Linked DNA regions of Homo sapiens: region 2 is linked to region 1. The links are contacts of gene promoters, found by promoter capture Hi-C in human tissues and cell types (Jung and others, 2019). All regions are on one chromosome and are shown on one strand. The core of a region is centred on a gene start or on the middle of the fragment in contact, and the rest is flanking DNA. Distances in the headings are between cores, read along the strand shown. Region 1 holds the start of IGFN1 (immunoglobulin like and fibronectin type III domain containing 1). Region 2 overlaps IGFN1 (immunoglobulin like and fibronectin type III domain containing 1).

Region 1 (6,860 bases), core at 2,621-5,120:
GTGAGCCACAGCAGGTGCTGCTGCCTGGAGGCGAGGATTGGGAAGAGTCAAATTAACTGTTTTAACAGTGCCTCTCTGCAGCAGTGGCTTTGAGGTGAGGAGACAGGGACCAGGAAACACCACAACCTCTCCCTGCTCCCCAGTTTAGCATTTTTCCATCCCTGCCCCCCAGATATTTCTCACACCAGAATAGCATGGTGTCTCTTCACTCTCTTTATCCACTCTTTTCCCCAGGCCTCTTGTCACTTCTAGGGTTCCAGGTAAGCACATACCCCCTCAAGGATAGGAGGGAGATGGGCTATGGCCTAGTGATGGATATAGGGCCTGGGTCCCCAGGAAGGTTGGTGCCCCAGCCCTCTCCCCTGGGAGGTAGGAGAGCAAGAATCTTGCCTCCCCTCCGCAGCTCCCCTCTGGGCTCACCCTCTGGCAGAGCCGAGGTGACGGGCTTCTGCTCAAAGTCCGGCGTGCTGCAGCCTTCAGGGATCTCCTCCACCAGCTGCCAGATGCTCACTCCAGGGATGTGGGACTTCCGGAGCTTTCCTGGAGAATGCAGGAGGGAAGGAGATGGGGCCTTCCACCTTCTTCCTCCTGGGTGGCCCTTCAACAGAATGGGCATCCACCCACTCACCCCAGGAGCAAGAAGCCCCTTCTCGCTCCTACTTTTGGGTCAGGATTATTTGTAGTACCTCCTGCCTGTGCACAGTGCTTTTGAATTCTCTAGTGGGAATCTGGTGGCACACACTCTGGCAGTGTGAATGGAGCCTCTAGGAAGTGGGTGGGGCACCCTAGGAAGACCCTGAGTGTGTCACTGGGGAAAAGCTGGGAAGAAAGAGTGAGAAAGGGCTCCTTCTCAGGAAGCCAAGAAGCAGGAGCTCGTGTGGGGGCTTTGCACTCCTTACTCAGGAAAACAAATCAAAACCCAAAGCCAAGACTCAAAAAAAAAGCCAAGCACGGTGGCTTACGCCAGTAATCCCAGCACTTTCGGAGGCCGAGGTGGGCAGATCACCTGAGGTCAGGCATTCGAGACCAGCCTGACCAACATGGTGAAACCCCACCTTTACTAAAAATACAAAAATTAGCCAGGCATGGTGGCAGGCACCTGTAATCCTAGCTACTCAGGAGGCTGAGGTGGGAGAATCACTTGAACCTGGGAGGTGGAGGTTGCAGTGAGCTGAGATCGCGTCACTGTACTCCAGCCTGGGCAACAGAGTGAGATTCTGTCTCAAAAAAAGCCAACAACAATAAAAATAAAATAAAATAAAATAAGGAGAAAAAAAACAACAACAAGATGGGCAAGTTCCCAGAAATCTCTGATCCCTACCACTTCTCTCCTCTCTGTCCTGGTAAGGATCGCCAGGGAGGGCTGGGGAGGGGAGATTAGTTCTTCTCTTACCTGCCATAGTTCTGCCTCCTCTTTGACTCCTCTGAGGGTAGAAGTTCTATTACCCTGAGAACAGAAATGGAATTGCTTTTGAGAAATCCAGGCTGGTCTCACCCCACCCCTCCCACACCATCAGTGCATCAGCCAATGTCTGGGGTGGGAGCTGGAAAAAGCTGCTGCCCCCAAGAGCTTTTCTAACCCACTAATGGCACTGATTAGTTTCCTGCAATTCCCTGTCCCCAGCAAAACCAATTTCCCAGAGACCAGGGAGTGGGTAGCATGCTACCCAGTTGGTAACATTCCCAGGTAAAGGGAACCATAAGCTGAGCCTGCACACTGTGCTGGTGGCCTGGCCTCCTGGTGGGACCCCAGACCTGATTACCCTGCCCAGAACATGAGACACAACCCTCCCAAACCTGAGGAAATCAGACCCATTCAGGATCCTTTCAGCTGTGTAAGGATTCAGCTGTGAAAGGATTTCAGCTGTGAAAGGATTCAGGCTCCTTTCAGCTTGCCCCATTGGCTTTGGAATGGGAATTCTCCAAGGACATTCTTTGGGCCTCCTGGCTCTTCCCCCAACTCTGAGATTTTCTGGCAGGACACTGAAGCCCTCTACTTCCCACGCTCCACCAATCTAGAATCCTTCCAGTCACAAGGTCTGCAGGGGAGAGGCCTCAAATTTGCTGCTCTTAAGCTCTTCTTGGCCCAGGCCTGTAGGATCCCCATAAATCCATCTGCTCCCCTCAGAAGCCAGTGAATTATAGTGTCAGGTGAATAGGAGTATTTTCCATTCTCTCACCACCACCATCTCTCCTGATTTCCTCTTAATTGCATCCATCTGTTATGGCCAATGGGGAGTCCCACACAGGAGAGGAAGGGGGTTGGGTCTGGGGTGGGATGAGAGCCATAAATCAGGGAGGGGGGATGTCTTGAAAGAATCTTCCAGCAGTCCCACCCTCTGTGCGATTGGCCCATGGCCAAGCGGTTCCATTTTGGGGACTCCATTTTCTGCCCAAAGAGCCTTATCATTAATATAGAATCACACATGACAGAGCAAATTCCTCTCTCCCATGGAGATCATTCCATTTCGCAACGGCCACCCACTGGCACTTCTGACCCCTGGCAGCCCCTCGCCAGCCCAGCCGCTGCACCCTAGCGTGCTGGAATGCCATGGTACGCCAACTGCGTTCTGGAGTGGTCACGGGTGCCACAGGCACTACGCCGAAGGGAGTCACGAGGAAGGGTGGGAGGGAAGGCAGCCACCAACGGATGAGGACCCAGCTGGACACGGCCAGGGGGAGGGCTGCAAGGGCCCCCATCCCACCCACCCCTCAGTGCAGCCTCCTGGTAGATGCAAGTGCACTGGTGCCAGTCGGTGACCCCCACACTGGAGTAGTTTGAGTTCAACACAGCTATCTGAGTCATCATCCCCATCGTCACCCACATCATCACCACGAGCAGCTATCATCCTGTTACTCAGCTATTGGTCACACATGAAGAAGGATGACGCTGATACCACTCTTCTCCCTCCAGCCTCCTGCCTACAGCTCCCAGCAGAGGAGGGCAAAAGAAGCAAAGCTCTTGGGGGAACTTAGGGATGTGACGTTAAGCATCCACTTCTGGAGCTCCACTCTCTTTTAGAATAAGCCAGATTTGGTACAAAGTCAATGACACAGGGAAAGAGATCTGTTGGATTGGAGACTAGAGGGATGTAGTCTCAGTTGGAAGGGATGAGAAAGGAAATGAATTCTCTCCTCCATAATTCATTCCCACATTTGAGAAGAACTCCAGTTCTTCCCAGAAGGAAACAGCAGTTTGTGTCCTCACTTCAGCTGTCCCAACAACACTCTCAGCACTGGATCCTGGGACAGTCCCTCCCTGCCCCCTCTCCAGGACCTATGGCTCCCCATCCTTTTTCCCTACCCTCCCCGGATCCATCCTGCACATCCAGGTCCCTGCTACCTCCAGTTGGTCCCTGCTACCTCTCAACTGGTAGAAATTGAGGCAGGAAGAGCCAAATGGAGTTCTCTCAACTGCTTTGACCATGATACTAACCAAAATATAACAAGTCCCAGCCCGAGGTCCTTATTCTGGACTGCTAGTGATATTTTTAATCTGGTCATCGTATCACACCCAAAGTCAAGCCGTGTCCAGAAAATTAGAGCCAGGACAGAAATGCCCAGACAGGACACACTGAAATTCTCTCCTCCAGATATCCTGGAGTAACCTAGAGGGGATACAGGTGCACCCCAGCGTGTGATCCGCCAGCCAGGGAATGTTCCCCAGGCAGACATCCTGCCCACTGCCTGCCCCTTCCTGCGTAGAAAAGCTGGACAGCAGGCTAGTGTCTCCATCCTGGCCCTACCCTGGCCCGGGTGGGCAGCCAGGTGTGAGCACCCACTTACCTGGGTGTACAGCTGACCTCCCGCTTCCTGTCTGCTCCCTCTTCCCCGTTTCCAGCTGCTGCTTGCTGAGGCTCTGGATTGACTGGTAGTGGACAGGCAGGGCTGGAGCAGGTGTCGGTTGCTGCAGGCGCCTCTGCTCCCTCTGCCCCTCCCACTCACCCCGCCTCCTCCTTCTCCTCCAGTCCAGGCTTGGCAGGGCAAGGCCCCCAGGGCTAACATTCTAGCTCAGAGGAGGTCAGAGATGGAAGGGTCCTGTGACATCAGTCCATCCAACTCCTCGCTTTGCAGAGCTTTAAGCTCTTAACCAGACTGGCTTAGTGTAAATTTGCCCCATGAAGCCTCATTTATACGACCCTTTTTAGCAAGGACATTTTCATCATCCAAACCCTTAACTTTTCAGCTAAGCTGGTCCCTTGGGACCTTTGACACCATAAGTCACACAGATACATAAGCCACTGCCCTCTTGGGAATCACACCTCCAAGTGGTATCAAACAGGCAGCAAACTTTGGGAGTGGGAGGGAAGGCAGCCATTAACGGAGTCACAGACACAGAGTCCACCGAGAGTGACCAGGAAGGAGGAGACCCTGGGAACTGTGTAGTCAGCAGGCCTGCTGGAGAAGGTGAGCTTGCTCAGGAGCTTTTCAAGGAACAGAAGGGGTGACCTGACCAGCAGGGTTGGGGGCGAAGTCGGCAGGGCAGATGGTTGGGTTTTTGGTCGGACAGATGGATGGCAAGTGGAAATTGGAAATACAATGGCTGGTAACAGATTTTCTTAAGGAGAGTGGAGGGCAGGTGAGGCCCAGGAGATAAGGCCACCTGGTGTGCTTTGAAAGAGCCACCTTCTCTCTCCTTAAGGACAGAGAACTGCTTTGTTGCCACCCATAAGCGAGGCTTGATTGAGGATTCAGGTGAAGTAGAAGGGAAATGGGGTGAATGTTTGCATCCAGGGGAGGACACTGAATATTTACATGTGTTGATTAGCATCTTGCCAATTTCTACAGGCGCTACCTCTGGATGTGCTCCGAGAGGGGAGGTGTTTGACCTCTTCTGCGCAAGTACGTGTATGTGTGTGCATGCATGCACACACACATACATTTGTGTGTCCTCCCTGTGTGTTTCTGAGTGTCAGGGCTGGTCTTTCATTTGTTCAACAAACATGTGTTGAACACCTACCGTGGGTTGAGCCCTGGCTCTGGCACTGTGTTAAGCCCTAGGAATACAAAGGTAAGCAAGTGACAGGGCCCTCCCATCATGAAGTTCACAGTCTAATGGGGCAGGTAGATGTAGGGGCTCCAAAGGAGACAATGGAGAGTGTGAGGGGAGGGCTGGACCTTGGAGAGCAAGGGAAAGAGTGGCAGTGAGAGTTGAGTTTGGACAGGTAGGCTTTGGGGGCCATTGAAGAGTTTTGATCTCTATTGTAAAGGTTACTGAGGTTTGTTTAAGCTGGAGGGGTGACAGGATCCAATCTGCATTTTAGAAGAACTCATTCTGGCTGCAGAAATGGAAGGGATTGGAGGAAGGAGAAAGTGAGAGGCAGGAGTCTACCTCCCAGGAGTGCAGTCCCAGGAGAACACCCTAGGGTGTTCTTTCTCATGGTGGGGCCCTGAGCTCCAGGGGCCTCCTGAGCCACAATGCTGCATCATTCCAGGAGGGGGAAGGAGGAGGCTGCATCATTCCAGGAGGGGGAAGGAGGAGGCTGTGAACATGGCCCAATGCAGAGCCTTTAGCATTTCACGTGCCTCTGTTGCCCCCCTAGACAGCCCATGTGCTCTTCCCTGGGGCCTGGGGATGGCCTGCAGATCCACGAGTCAAGGTGTGCCCTGCTAACTGGCCTCCATTTTCCATGATGTTGTTGTTGTTTCCTAAACAGAGATGAGATCTTGCCATGTTGCCCAGGCTGGTCTCAAACTCCTGGGCTCAAGTGATCCTCCCATGCCGGCCTCCCAAAGTGCTGGAATGGCAAGCATGAGCCACTACACTCACCCCATTTTCCATGTTTTAACAGCAGCCCACATTAGGGGACCTACTCCTCTCTGCGCTGTGTCATACATGGATCCCTATCGTTGCAATAAAATGGAAATTTCGGGACTCCAAGGAACTGAGAATGAGTTACACAGTTTTTACCACTCTCCCCACTTTATCCTCTATCAAATGTAGTGTCCAGTAATATTTAGCTATGTCTGGATCGCCAGCCATCCACCACCACTTCCCAGGGTATAATCTTATTACACCTCCTGATAGACTTTTCCTTTGGGAGATAAAGAGACAAGTCCTGGCCGGGCACAGTGGCTCATGCCTGTAATCCCACCACTTTGGGAGGCTGAGGCGGGCAGATCACAAGGTCAGGAGATTGAGACCATCCTGGCCAACATGGTGAAACCCCGTCTCTACTAAAGATACAAAAATTAGCTGGCTGTGGTGGCATATGCCTGTAGTCCCAGCTACTTGGGAGGTGAGGCAGGAGAATCGCTTGAACCCGGGAGGCGGAGGTTGCAGTGAGCTGAGATCGCATCACTGCACTCCAGCCTGGTGACAGAGTGGGACTCCGTTTCAAAAAAAAAAAAAAAAAAGACACAAGACCTTACCTTCATCGATTAGGGGAATATCCATGTCAAAAGAACTCTGGGCAGTGAATTTGTGTGCATTATTCATTGTTCCTCAGTGCCTTATGGAAAGGGCTCAGGGACTTTGGGTAGGGATAGGTTCAGAATTCATTAATGCTCTCCTGTCCCCACAAGAACGAAATGCATTATATGGCAGGTACCAAGAGGCTCAGGCCCCATAAAGGCCTCTCTTGGGACCCTTTTACTCCTGATGGCATGGGTCAGATGAGATGATCTCTGAGATCCTGGCCAATTTGAACCTTCCACAGTCCTGTGACTGAATGGGGAAGGCCATGTGGACTTGAAAAGCAGTCCATGTGACTCAGGAGAGAGTTTAAATTCATTCACAGGCGTTCATTGCCTCTATGCTTGGTGTAAAACTGGTTCTGTCCCAGCTGGGTGAGTCACTGAGGGTGCTGTCCAGGGGAGGGTGTCCTCTCTTGCACCCAATGGGGTCCATGTAGATGGGT
Region 2 (6,860 bases), core at 1,505-4,004, 39 kb before region 1:
TTTTCTCCCATTATATAGGTTGCCTGTTCACTCTGATGGTAGTTTCTTTTGCTGTGCAGAAGCTCTTTAGTTTAAGTAGATCCCATTTGTCTGTTTTGGCTTTTGTTGCCATTGCTTTTGGTGTTTTAGTCATGAAATCTTTGCCCATGCCTATGTCCTGAATGATATTGCCTAGGTTTTCTTCTAGGGTTTTTATGGTTTTAGGTCTAACATTTAAGTCTTTAATCCATCTTGAATTAATTTTTGTATAAGGTGTAAGGAAGGGATCCAGTTTCAGCTTTCTACATATGGCTAGCCAGTTTTTCCAGCACCATTTATTAAATAGGGAATCTTTTTGCCATTTCTTGTTTTTCTCAGGTTTGTCAAAGATCAGATGGTTTTAGATGTGTGGTGCTATTTCTGAGGCCTCCGTTCTGTTCCATTGGTCTATATCTCTGTTTTGGTACCAGTACCATGCTGTTTTGGTTACTGTAGCCTTGTAGTATAGTTTGAAGTCAGGTAGCATGACACTTCCAGCTTTGTTCTTTTTGCTTAGGATTGTGGATATGTGGGCTCTTTTTTGGTTCCATATGAACTTTAAAGTAGTTTTTTCCAATTCTGTGAAGAAAGTCATTGGTAGCTTGATGGAGATGGCATTGAATTTATAAATTACTTTGGGCAGTATGGCCATTTTCACAATACTGATTCTTCCTATCCATGAGCATGGAGTGTTTTTCCACTTGTTTGTGTCCTCTTTTATTTCATTGAGCAGTGGTTTGTAGTTCTCCTTGAAGAGGTCCTTCATATCCCTTGTAAGTTGGATTCCTAGGTATTTTATTCTCTTTGTAGCAATTGTGAATGGGAGTTCACTCATGATTTGGCTCTCTGTTTTTCTGTTATTGGTGTATAGGAATGCTTGTGATTTTTGTACATTGGTTTTGTATCCTGAGACTTTGCTGAAGTTGCTTATCAGCTTGAGATTTCGGGCTGAACCAATGGGGTTTTCTAGATATACAATCATGTCATCTGCAAACAGGGACAATTTGACTTCCTCTTTTCCTAATTGAATACCCTTTATTTCTTTCTCTTGCCTGATTGCCCTGGCCAGAACTTCCAACACTATGTTGAATAGGAGTGGTGAGAGAGGGCATCCTTGTCTTGTGCCAGTTTTCAAAGGGAATGCTTCCAGTTTTTGCCCATTCAGTATGATATTGGCTGTGGGTTTGTCACAAATAGCTCTTATTATTTTGAGATACGCTCAGATTCTATACTTGACTGGCAGGGACTTTTTTTGGCTTTGTGTGGAAATGAATGAAAATGCCATGACCATTCCTTTTGTCTTCATATCCCACCCCAGTTACAGAAGTATGCTAGCCCCTCCCAGGGACACCTAACTTGGCCTGCCCCAGGATATTGGCACTCTGCTGTCCACTGCCAAAAGAGACAACTGCTTTCCACTGTCCCAGGCCTCCAAGGGCAGGAACTCCACCTCCATCGTGGTTGGCGCCCAGAGCACACATGCACCTGTAAATTTGGTCCTAGAATGTTTCCCTTTGGCATTAGACCAAAGGGCTGTGATAGCTACATAGGTCACCCTGAATTGTCTAATCTGAACCATTTGCCAGCCCTCGAACCCAATTTGTGCTTCCCTACCTCCTTGCCTTTGCTCATGGTGTTCTCCACCGTGATACACCCTTGCCCATTCCTGCCTGTCCAGTTGCTACTTTTCCCTCAAGCATGTTACCACTTTACGAAGCCCTCCTTGAGGTTCTCAGTCTGCAGCATCTCTCCTCCTCTGAACTCCTCTAGACTTTATTGGTGCCTTTCTTAGAATATGCATCACAGGCTACCTTGGATTATGGCTCTTGGTATTCAAGTCTTGCGTCCCTGCCATGGATCCCTTGGCTATAGGACTCATATCTGAGTCATCTTCATCTCCGCCTCCACAGTGCCTGATCCAGGCTCATAAAAAAAAAATGAAGGTGTCTTATGAAGCCATCATGAGTTATAGTCTTTTGTCCTTATATTGCCTCAATAGGTCAGTCCCCTGTAGCCCACCCTTAGAGGTACAGAAAGGTCTCTCTTCTCATCCTCAATATGAGTGTCTGCTCAGAGCTAGGCATGCCACAGGCACTGGGTCACCCCCTCTGTGCAAACGACCTCTTCTCTGCATTTCTGAAACCACAGACTATTGGCCTGAGGCCCTGCCCTCCTTCAACTCCAGGACCGTGCAGCATGGAAAGAACTCATGAGAACTGCCCCACACAGGCTGAGGTGTCCAGCCACTGCCTCTCAGTTTCTAAGAACTTCCTTCTTTTCCTATGGCCATGGTGTTGGCCTGCTGTGTTAGCAAGGTAGAGATAACAAGAGAAATTCCAAGGAAAACAGCTCATGCAGGTTTCTTTGGTAGGGGAAGGAATGAGCTATAAAAGGTTGTCTGGTGTGTGTCCCTGCCTCTGGGGGACACTCTTGGTCTATTTTAGGTGAACAGTTCTCTCTCCGGTTCAGAGAACCTTCCCTTGGTCACATATTCTCACTCTTCAGAAACAGATTTTTGGCATTAACCCTTCCTCCTGTGATTCACCCTCCTTCCTTCATGCATCTGACCTGCAGTTAGTGGCAAAGGGAGGCTGAGGGAAGCAGAAGCCAGGATCTGAGCAGAGGGAGTGAAGGGCAGACAGTGTTCTAGCTCATCGGGTCACCTGCTGGGCCTCAGAGCTGATGCCCTGGGAGAGAGTGGGGTTCAGCCTTCCCCGGGGCTCCTTCCTTTCTTTTGGCTCCTGGAAACTCTGGAATATTTCCTGGGAGCCTGAGAGTTTGGGGGCCATGCCTTGAGGATAATGGAGTGCAAGAGTTCTGGGGGCAGTGGTGGGGTGACCCACCTGGGAAAGGGAGGCATCCCATCCCTCCTGTGACATGGGGCAGTGGGGACTGTGAAGAAGGTGAGGAGGCCTCATGCAGCCTTGAGTGAGAGTCACCCTCATGCACTTGAGAGCCTCTTTCTTCCCCTTCTGACAGGGGCATAGATCCTGGAGTAGGATTCTCCCCAACTCAGACTCTTTCTGGTCCCGGGGAGTGACGGACATAGGCCAACCCTAGGCAACCCCAGCCCTGTGGTCCCCACACACGTAACACCTGGGGAGGCCTCCAGCCCTGCTGCTCACAGGATTTCTGCCAGTCAGAAGAGTGCAGGAAACAAAGGCCAGGAGGAAGAGAAGCCTCTCCATTACCCTCTAACCCTTCTTGGCTTTCTCGCCCTTGCAATCAACTATGTAGGCCTGGGCTGCAGGAGAAGAGTCCAGTTCTGAGCCCGTTCTTCCTCTATCCAGAACCCACCCATCCTCCCAACTGAAGCCTGGAATAAAGGCTCCGCTTTGGAAATCTTTCCTCCAACACACCCACCCCAAGTAAATTTGCCAATGATCTGCCTGTATTAGCCTAATGTTTTAATGAAGAAACGCATAGAAAGCACTTGCTGCACCCCTGGAATCTCTTGAATCCAGGAGGTGGAGGCTGCCCCCACCCACACACACGACCTTGATGCCCTAGTCCTCACCCAGGTCCTCTGACCTCCTCTCCTCTTCCCTCCCAGTGGTCACAGCAGGCCCAGCTGTGCCCACCCTCCCTCCAAACGGCTCAGCCCAGGAAAATAAGGAGCCGGCCCATCCTGCAGGCAGGTGCCCTCTGGATCTCCTGAAGCGAAGAAGAAAGAAACCCATATGGTGAGGGTCCAGGAGGTTCGCTGTCATTCTGTTGAGTGACTTAGCTTGGAGCCAGGAGGTGGAATGCCCTCCTCCCTTGTTTTTCTTCCCCAAGGACTTCACGTCCTCCTGGCCAAAACCTCGCCAGGCATCTTCTCACTCCCATTTTCCTGGGGCTCTGGGCACAGCCTCCATCCTTGGGATTGGCTTCCCGGGCCAGTGCAGGTGTCGGAAGTGAAGCTTCAAGGGTCCAGGACCATCCCAGGGTGAGGTGAGGCTAGGTGCTGGGTTCTGCAAGACACAGGATATTCCAGTTGGTTCAGAGGGGCAGCCACCCCACCCTGCATCTGTTCAGTGGTGAAGAAAACTCAGAATGGGGCTTAGACTACAGGCTCTGCCATCAGGGGGTGTGGGTTCAAATCTGGAGCCACCACGTGCTCTCTAAGCTTGGGCAAAGCCCTTTGCTGGCCCCTCGGGGAACCATAATCACCCCCAATGCCATCTTCGTTCCGGGACTACATGTGTACACAAGCTGGGGTGTTTCGAGAGTGGCTTCCTAAATGCCTAAGCACAGGTGCTACAGAGAGGAGAGATGCTCTGCTCCAGTGCAAAGGGGCCGTTTTTCCACAAAGGTCAATTGAGGCTTGCCTTTTATTGCTATTCAAAATATAAGGTGTTTTAAGTACTATCGAAGGAAAAACCTTTATTAACATATATATCTGTGCTACTGAAAAGGAGACTACCAATGAGAGAATCAGCATGGCTTTCTAGGCACTAAGTGTTCATATCTTGACATACTTAAGAAACAGCAATACGGATGCCTGTTCATCTCTCAGCCTGCAATGTGTAGCGTGGCCCCACTGGGAAGCTTAGGTGAGCAGTACACAGCCCTTCAATCAAGAGTTGCTCACCAAGTTCAAATACCTCATTTTAAAAGTGGGCAAATCTGCCGGGCACAGTGGCTCACACCTGTAATCCTAGCTCTTTGGGAGGCCGAGGCGGGTGGATCACCTGAGGTCAGGAGTTTGAGACCAGTCTGGCCAATATGATGAAACCCCCCTTCTATTAAAAATACAAAAAAATCCGCCAGGTGTGGTGGCGGATGCCTGTAATCCCAGCTATTCAGGAGGCTGAGGCAGGAGAATCTCTTGAATCCAGGAGGTGGAGGCTGCAGTGAGCCGAGATCATGCCATTGCACTCCAACCTGGGCAACAAGAGCGAAACTCCGTCTCAAAAAAAAAAAAACTAAAAATAAAAATAAATTTTTTAAAAAGTGGGCAAATAAAGACCACATGTGGGCCGGTGTTGGTAGGTTAAATAGCTGAAAGTTCATAGAGTCAGGCAGAGAGTCCTGGTCTCCTGACTCCCGGCTGAATCCCTCTAGGCACCCCCCGGAGCCTCCCTGACAGGCAGGTGGTTGCTCTCCTGGCTCTCCTTCCTGCCCCACTGCCAGGGCAGCCACCATTACCTATGACAATGAGGGTGGCAGTGCTGACTGCCTGGCCCAGCGTGTTCTCAGCCACAGCCTTGTACTCCCCGCTGTCCTTCGGGGATACGCTGGGGATGGTGAGGGAGCACACGCCCAGCAGGTCAGTGCTGTACACCGCGGGGTTTCCTTCCAGGCTGCGGTCATTCTTGAACCAGGTGACGTGGGGCCGGGGCGAGCCCTGCACGGCACAGCTCATGCAGCACTCGCAGCCCTGGGGCAGCAGGTGGGACCGCAGGCCCACCAGGAACCGGGGCTTCTGGCTCAGGTCGGGCTCCCGGTAGCACGGAGCCTTCACTGTGAACCTGTCTGTGGTGAAAGCCGGGGTGAGAGAAGAGGGTGAGAAAGCGAGGAAGGCCTGGCTGAGACCCGGGTCTGGGTAAAGAGTTCATGAAGCTACCATGTAGGCCTTATCTGGGATTTCCTGCCACATCTTGCCTGCAAATTTGGACCCCAAGGCTTGCCTCATTCTATCCTTTTCCTAAAATTCTTTATGGATTTTTTTTTGTAGCTAATACACATTCACTGTGGACAATTAGAATACACAGAGAATCAAAGGAGAAAGAATAAAAACCAAATCATAATCTCACTACCTATAGATGACTATAGCTGACATTCTGGTGTAGAGCTTTCCTGAAATTTTTGTATTTTATGAAAATGAAACCTTGATTTGATTTTATAGCCTGCTTTTCTGTGACTGATCTTAAGGTCCACATCTACTTTGCGGTAAAATATACACTTTGTTTTCAGAGAAACATTAACCTCTATTTGCCTTATTGTCTGTGGCTGCTTTTGAAAATCCTCCCAAAGGCACCTCAGACACCAAAACACCCACACCAATCTCATTCTTCCCACGGAGGTCGGGGTGCAGAGGATGCCAGAACAGGTGGGTGTGAGGCAGGAGCGGGAGGAGCAGCAGCTCGGGGCTGCTGGCTGTTATTTGGCATGCTCCAGGCCATCCCTGCCACAGTCCCTATCCTGCGCGCTTGCCATGCTTGGGTGCATCCCACTGCATTGCAGAGCGCAACCCCCACCCTGCCTGCTCCTCCCTCTCAGGGGCTGCTTACCGCGCTGCCGGGGGATGCACCAGGGCTGGCTGGTGTCCGAGGGTTTGCTGGCCCCCAGCTCATTCTTGGCCACCACCCTGAAGTGGTATTCGTGGCCGGGGAGGATGCCCAGGAGGGTGAAGCGGTTGGTGTGGATGCGGTCGGCTGCCTCGTGCCAGGGACCGTGCGCTGAGGAGCGTGTGAACACCGCGTAGTGCAGCGGGACATCCTGGGCCTCGTCAGGAGAGGGTTCCCACTCGGCCGTCACCGTCCCAGGCACGTTCTCCTGCAGGTGGATGGGCCCAGGGGCCTGCGGGCATGCTTCAGGAGAGACGGCAGAGGGAGGTCACGTGGAGGGGACCCAGCAGGGCTGCTACCAGCCCCCTCCAGGTCCCAGGACTTCTGAGGGTCCTGGGGAACGCAGTCTTGCCACACAAGTAGCTGGACCCAGAGTAAGCTTGGCCAGCGGTCCACAGTTATCTCTAGAGGGTAGAAAATCTCCCCAAAAGAGTAATTTTAATTCACTTCAGTGTGTTTGTTTGTTTGTTTTTTGAGACGGAGTCTGGCTCTGTCACCCAGGCTGGAGTGCAGTGGCACGATCTCGGCTCACTGCAAGCTCCAACTCCCGGGTTCACGCCATTCTCCTGC

The links. Contacts are between HindIII fragments. The study calls those that stand out against the background at their distance.
Region 2: a contact is called between a fragment that was not itself captured here and the fragment with the promoter of IGFN1 in region 1, in 1 of the 25 tissues and cell types used here (psoas muscle).

The regions. Positions count from the first base shown.
Region 1 is chr1:201,187,834-201,194,693 of GRCh38, reverse strand. It overlaps IGFN1 (immunoglobulin like and fibronectin type III domain containing 1), which reads right to left and starts at 3,870. Exons shown (of 24, transcript NM_001164586.2): 1 at 3,787-3,870; 2 at 1,394-1,447; 3 at 421-540. The coding sequence starts at 1,400. The HindIII fragment of the contact is 14,085 bases long and covers 1-6,860 here.
Region 2 is chr1:201,225,497-201,232,356 of GRCh38, reverse strand. IGFN1 (immunoglobulin like and fibronectin type III domain containing 1) reads right to left here. Exons shown (of 24, transcript NM_001164586.2): 22 at 6,234-6,533; 23 at 5,149-5,475; 24 at 3,405-3,971. The coding sequence ends at 3,958. Among named protein-coding and RNA genes, the nearest start is that of IGFN1, 38 kb to the right of the region's middle. RefSeq lists an enhancer at 5,809-6,801. The HindIII fragment of the contact is 5,710 bases long and covers 1-5,609 here.